Linked DNA regions of Homo sapiens: region 2 is linked to region 1. The links are contacts of gene promoters, found by promoter capture Hi-C in human tissues and cell types (Jung and others, 2019). All regions are on one chromosome and are shown on one strand. The core of a region is centred on a gene start or on the middle of the fragment in contact, and the rest is flanking DNA. Distances in the headings are between cores, read along the strand shown. Region 1 holds the start of EGR1 (early growth response 1). Region 2 overlaps MATR3 (matrin 3).

Evidence for each region. Contacts are between HindIII fragments. The study calls those that stand out against the background at their distance.
Region 2: a fragment that was not itself captured here is called in contact with the fragment with the promoter of EGR1 in region 1 in 1 of the 25 tissues and cell types used here (dorsolateral prefrontal cortex).

Annotation. Positions count from the first base shown.
Region 1 is chr5:138,463,530-138,466,934 of GRCh38, reverse strand. EGR1 (early growth response 1) reads right to left here and starts at 1,456. Exons shown (of 2, transcript NM_001964.3): 1 at 867-1,456; 2 at 1-178. The coding sequence starts at 1,173. RefSeq lists silencers at 1,203-1,412, 1,503-1,852, 1,863-2,262, 2,583-2,852 and enhancers at 718-1,557, 1,558-2,398, 1,471-2,670. The HindIII fragment of the contact is 10,830 bases long and covers 1-3,405 here.
Region 2 is chr5:139,310,221-139,313,358 of GRCh38, reverse strand. The region is part of intron 2 of MATR3 (matrin 3); the gene reads right to left. Among named protein-coding and RNA genes, the nearest start is that of MATR3, 18 kb to the right of the region's middle. The HindIII fragment of the contact is 5,043 bases long and covers 1-3,138 here.

The sequences.
Region 1 (3,405 bases), core at 207-2,706:
ACTAGGCCACTGACCAAGCTGAAGAGGGGCTCGGGCCACAAGGTGTTGCCACTGTTGGGTGCAGGCTCCAGGGAAAAGCGGCCAGTATAGGTGATGGGGGGCAGTCGAGTGGTTTGGCTGGGGTAACTGGTCTCCACCAGCACCTTCTCGTTGTTCAGAGAGATGTCAGGAAAAGACTCTGGCAGGAGAGAGAGAAGCGGGAGGCCTGGTTACTGGAAAGCAATCACTGGAGGACGAGGACGACCCGAGCTGCCAGGCAAGAGACCGGGCCGGCTACCATTGACTCCCGAGGTAGTTAATAATTGATAGCAGCACATTGCAATGTTCCTGGACCCGCACCAGTGGCAGAGCCCATTTCAACAACAGCTGACGCAAATACGGAGAATCCCCCTCCACTGCAGCTCGCAGCGCTCCGCAGCGGCGGCTGTGCGGGCGAGGGATTCCCGCCAGCACCCCCATGGCCGCGGCTAGTGCGCGCCCCCAAACCCGGGCTGCCGGGACATCCACGGCCAAGGATCACGGTCCTTCCTTGGGGACAGGCGGCAAGCAAGGCAAGGCAAGTCTTACTGGAGGTGGGGGGCGCAGCCCCGCTCATCAAAACAAGCCCTCCCCCTCCACCCACCCACGCAGCTCCAGAGCTCTCCATCCAAAACAAAAGCTCGGTCCTCTGCGCTCCGCTAGGGATGAGGGCAGGGGGTGGGCTGTGTGGGGTTCCTTGGCATCCCTCTAACACATGACTCTGGGGATGCGAGGAATGAAAGGGAAACCCGGCTCTCATTCTAAGATCCAGGAGCACTCCTGCGGTGAAGGACAGGACGCCAGGATGGTGGCGAAAGGGTTCCCCCTCGGCGTAGGCCACTGCTTACCTGCGGTCAGGTGCTCGTAGGGCTGCTCGCCCGTGTCCGCCTGAGGGTTGAAGGTGCTGCTGCTGCTGCTGCTGTTGCTGCCGCCCCCGCCGCCTCCACCGCCCCCGCTGCTGCTGCTGCTGCTGTTGCTGCCGCTGCCCTCTGGGGCCCCGGCGGCGCCGAGGAACTGGGGAGCCCCGTTGCTCAGCAGCATCATCTCCTCCAGCTTAGGGTAGTTGTCCATGGTGGGCGAGTGAGGAAAGGATCCGAACGGGTCAGAGATCTGCAGCGGGGACATCAGCTGCATCTCGGCCTTGGCCGCGGCCATCCTGGACGAGCAGGCTGGAGAGCTGGTGTCGGGGCGGGGGGGTGCAGCCCGGGGCTGGAGCTGCAGGGGACACAGTTGCGGGGGCCTGGCCGGGTTACATGCGGGGCGCGGGGAACACTGAGAAGCGTGCAGGCGGCGACCCCGACTCGCCCTGGGCGCGGGCGGGCGTGGACGCGCCGCGGCTGCGGAGGCTGGGGCAGGGGCCGGTCCTGCGGCGGCGGAAGCTGGCTGCGGCGGCGGATGGCGGCGGCGGCTCCCCAAGTTCTGCGCGCTGGGATCTCTCGCGACTCCCCGGATCCGCCTCTATTTGAAGGGTCTGGAACGGCACGGGTCCGCCTCCGTCGTGACGTACATGGCCATATATGGGAAGCAGGAAGCCCTAATATGGCAGGACCGGCCGGGAGGACCCGGAGTGACGTGAAGCCCCCCATCCGACAGCGCCCGGCACCTCCATCCTGCACCCTAGGGCCCGCGCCCGCGCCCGCATCCCAGGCGCCCAGGCTTCGGGGAAGCCTAGAGCTCTAGCCGCCGCCGGGGCCTCCGGGACCCGCGCAGCTCCGGAGTTCCCGCGTTGCCCCTCCCTCCGCCTTCTTCCCTCCTCCCAGAGCCGGAAGCGGCCGGGCCATATCGGGCCACTCCAAATAAGGTGCTGCCCAAATAAGGGTTGTTCCGGCGGGGGATCCTTCCTGCTCCTTATATGGCATTTCCGGGTCGCAGCTGGTTGCTCCCTCGCTCCCTCCCTCCTCCCTGGTTCCAAGCCGGGAGCCCGAGCGCTCGCGGGATCCGGGGACGCCCAGGCGGGGAGGGCTCGTGGCGTGTGGCGCTGGGCGCGCGGCTGCTCAGGCGGCTCCTAGGCGTGAACTAGGCTGGGGAAGCCCAGACCCAGAGCGGGGGCGAGGGCGAGTCGGGCCGGGGTTCTATCGCTGTCATCCAGGGCCCGCCCGCCCACCTCAGGGACCGTGAGAGCGAACCGGGAGTGCGGGGGAGGAGCGGCTGGGCCCGCCTGGGCAGGGGCCGCCCAGGAGAGGCGGGGCCTTGACCCCGGGCCTCGATCTATGGCACGGTGTCTTTCCGGGTGTCGCTGGGAAATTGAGGATAGGAAGTCACGGCCACTTGGTTCTTGGGACACTGTATAGCAGTGAGCTGCCTTGCCTCTGCCACCTGTCGGTGGGATGGGGCTGCTGGTGCCTGGGGTCCCCTGTGCTCCCCCGGAACCGAAAGGCTGTTCCCTAGTCCCCGCCGGCAAAGAGCCCACCTTTGGGGGACCGAAGTGGGGAAGCTGATTGCCCCAAGAGAGGCCTGATTCTTGTTCTCACCAGGAGATAATGGTCCTTGTGGTGAGGGGTCACTTTCCCCCCTTTATCCAGTCCAGGTGGAGGGCCGGCCCACACTGCGGGAATCCGAAAGAGGGGCTTCCCTATGGGCTGTCTGGGGACCCCGGGCTGGGCGCGAAGAGAGGACCGGCTTGGCGGCTCGGTGCTGCCCCCTGGAGGTTCCCTCTCCACTCCCAGCCCCGGACTCCGGCCGCGCGGGCTCTTCCGCCGCCTCCTCGCTCCTCCTCCCGGATGCGGCGCTGGGCGCGGAGCCAGGCCGGGGGAGCCTTCGACGCAGTGAGCACGAACTGAGCAGGCGCTGCAGCCCGGGCTCCCCCTGCAGTCCCTGGGGAGCCGTCACTGCCGAGGCGCCCAGACTCCGGGATAACACTCCTCACCCCGAGCCTGGCCAAGGCGAGGGGGAGAAGGAAGCAGGGGGTGGGTGGTGGCGAGGGAGAACGATTCCCGCAGGTCTCCCTGGGGCCGAACGCGAACAGGGAAGCCCTCCCCGCCCCCACGACGCAGTCAGTTGCTCACCCCAAAGGGAACAGGGATTCCGGGAAGGGAAGGCTCCTCCTGCTCTAGCTCTGAATCCAGAGGAGGTGCTGTTTTTTCTGGATTTAAAAAGAAAGCAGAAAGAGAATGTGGGGAAGGAGGGTGCTTGACGACACCGAGAGGGAAGGGAGGAGGTGAGGGCCTCTGTGAACCCCAACAGCCTCTGGAGGTCGGGGTCAGGGGGATTAGGTGGGGGAGGGTGTAACTTTCTTGGACTTAATCCCTCTGTGGCTGTCCCCCCTCCAAACATGTTTTCTTATAAAAACCAACTTAATGAACCAGGACTCCCTCGTCTCGGAGCCTGCCGTCTCAAGTCCGCTGGGGAGGTGGGGGGCTCACTCCCACTGTCTACCGAGTTGTCCAT
Region 2 (3,138 bases), core at 510-3,009, 850 kb before region 1:
ATGGAATGTGCTAAAAAAAAAAAAAAAAAAAGAACTATTATTACACTGATTATAAAGCAGTCTTGTTTTACAATTCCTGCTTTACAACTATTATTGATGTTTCACAAACTCCCACAAATTGAGGTAATTTCTGTAACACCCACACTACCCAATACAATTATATTTGGAATATAAAACATGGTCAGGCGATGTGTTTTTAAAGGGGGATGTCTCACTGAGAGCTGAACTAAATTAGAGTAAGGTACCAAGGTACCAAATTACAAGATACGTGCTTTCAAAAAGCTGCGGATTGGTATTTTATAAATGAGCTCCTAAAAAAAAAAAAAAAAAAAACTGGTTTATATTTACCTGACAACAGTTTAGGTACATTCCTATGCTCTAGTAAAATTATCTAAAATCCTGTGAAAGGCCAGGTGCGGTGGCTCAGGCCTGCAGTCCCAGCACTTTGGAAGGCCAAGGTGGGAGCATCAACTGAGGTCAGGAGTTCAAGACCAGCCTGGCCAACATGGTGAAACGCTGTCTTTATTAAAAATACAAAAATTAGCCAGGCATGGTGGCAGGTGCCTGTAATTCCAGCTACTTGGGAGGCTAAGGCAGGAGAATAGCTTGAACCTGGGAGGCAGAGGTTGCAGTGAGCCAAGATCACACCATTGCACTCCAGTCTGGGCAAGAGTGAAACTGTCTCAAAAATAAATAAATAAATAAAAATAAAATCCTGTAAACTAAAATGGAACTCATCCAAATAGAATGGTACCTTCCTTAAAATGTTGGAAGCTATAAACTACTATTTCCAGGTCTCTCAAAGCTAGATTATCTTTTTAAAATAATGGCTAATAGCTAAGGAACTCAAGATCTCTCCAGCTGGCTCTCTAATCATCAGCTATTTGGGATATCTAAAGTTTCAACTGGAAAGTAATGGACCACTGCCTTCTTGGGGACCAGTTTTAAAATGGCTTGTAAGGGCCGGGTGCAGTGGCTCACGCATACGATCCCAGCACTCTGGGAGGCCAAAGCAGGCAGATTACTTGAGCCCAGGAGTTTGAGACCAGCCTGGGCAACACAGTGAAACCCGATCTCTATCAAGAAAAAAACGCCAGATGTGGTGGTGGTACATGCGTCACTTGAGCCTGGGTGGTAGAGAGTGCAATGAGCTGCGAACACCTAAGCGCACTTCAGCGTGGGCTACAAAGCAAAAGACCCTTTCTCAAAAACATAAAACAAAATAAAATAAAATAAAAATGGCTCTAAGTCAGAGGAGCCACAGGTAAGTTCACAAAATTTAGAAGCCTTGGCTGGGCGTGGTGGCTCATACTTGTAATCCCAGCACTTTGGGAGGCCGGGGCAGGCGGATCACCTGAGGCCAGGAGTTAGAGACCAGCCTGGCTAACATGGTGAAACCCGTCTCTACTAAAAATACAAAAAAATTAGCTGGGCATGGTGATGTATGCCTGTAATCCCAGCTACCTGGGATGCTGAGGCAGGAGAATTGCTTGAACCCGAAAGGCAGAGGATGCAGTGAGCCAAGATCACGCCACTGTACTCCAGCCTGGGACACAGAGCGAGAAACCTTCTCAAAAAAAAAAAAAAAAAAAAAAAAAAAAAAAAAAAGGATTAATTAAACAAATACCAATTAACGACTTACAATTCTCTGAACTAAAAATATTCAGATTTTACTTAAAATATTCTTAAGTTGTGGGAGAGAAATAAATGTTATCCTACTACGCATGCTTCTATTTCATAGGAGCTAGAAAGGGTACATAGCTGAACAGAAATTATATCCAATCCTCCACGTTGTTTAAAGGTTCAAACTTAGGGGAAAAGTGTGTCTGGTCTTTCAAAGTGAAAAAAGGAAGGCCAAGATCAAAAAATCAATCACATACCTCCCAAACTCATCCAATGACTAATCTGTACTACTGATCTATTACTGGTTGGTTTACGGTGGGGACTAAGTGAAAGAGTTTTATAAAAATATATATCCCTGGACTCTACACTGAGGTAACTCCTGTAAAATCAGATTAATAAAGGATTCGTGCACTTTTTAAATTCAGACATTTCTGTAGGAAAACTACATTCACCTTGATGTATCTGAGATACCTTATAGAGAGAAAAAAAAGAATTTGGGAAGCACTTACAGAATGGCAGAAAAAAGTATAACTTAATATAAACTCAAGTGACAAGACAGCCAAAGTGCTGTAGTGGGTAATTTTCTTTAAGTGAAAGGAAGCTGAGAAAGCTTGAGATTGCATAGAAAAGCAATCTGATGACTGGGTGCGATGGCTCACACCTGTAATCCCAGGACTTTGGGAGGCCAAGGCAGTGAATCACCTGAGGTCAGGAGTTCAAGACCAGCCTGACCAACATGGAGAAACCCTGGCTCTAAAAATATAAAATTAGCTGGGCGTGGTGGCGCATGCCTGTAATCCCAGCTACTCGGAAGGCTGAAGCAGGAGAATTGCTTGAACCTGGGAGGCGGAGGTTGCGGTGAGCCGAGATCGCACCATTGCACTCATTACAGCCTGGGCAACAAAAGTGAAACTCCGTCTCAAAAAAAAAAAGAAAAAAAGAAAAGAAAAGAAAAGCAATTTGATGACCTAAAATGACCTATAAAGAAATAAAAACACCACCATCACTTTAAGTCACCTAAAAATAATGACACTCCATGACAAATTATTTTCAACTTAAGTTTCTTACTTCACAGTAAGAATTTTTGATCATGTAGACTATTTAACAATACCACTAAGTAAAAAGAACAGATTTTCCAAGTTATGCAGCAATACCAGAGAGCAGGATTAAATGTTTAAAAATTTTTCATTATCTACTTCCATCACAGAAATTTTCTCTAAGGTCATTTCTATAGCGGTTATAGAGGGTCCACTGCTAAAGTGAGTAAAGATTTTTTCAATATAATGCATATACGTAAAAAACATAGTAAAGCAACTAGAAAACTAGAAATTCAGATAATCCATGTGTTTAAACTTCTTAAAGTTGGTCCAATTTACACATTTAAACCACAGAATTAAACAAAAGGCCTCTAAAATAGTTCTCAAATGTACTCAGTATTTTGACAGAATACCAAAACTAGCTAGGACCTAAGCATTTTTACAGGCTAAAAGTACCTCTTGCACTAGGGTAGTGTAT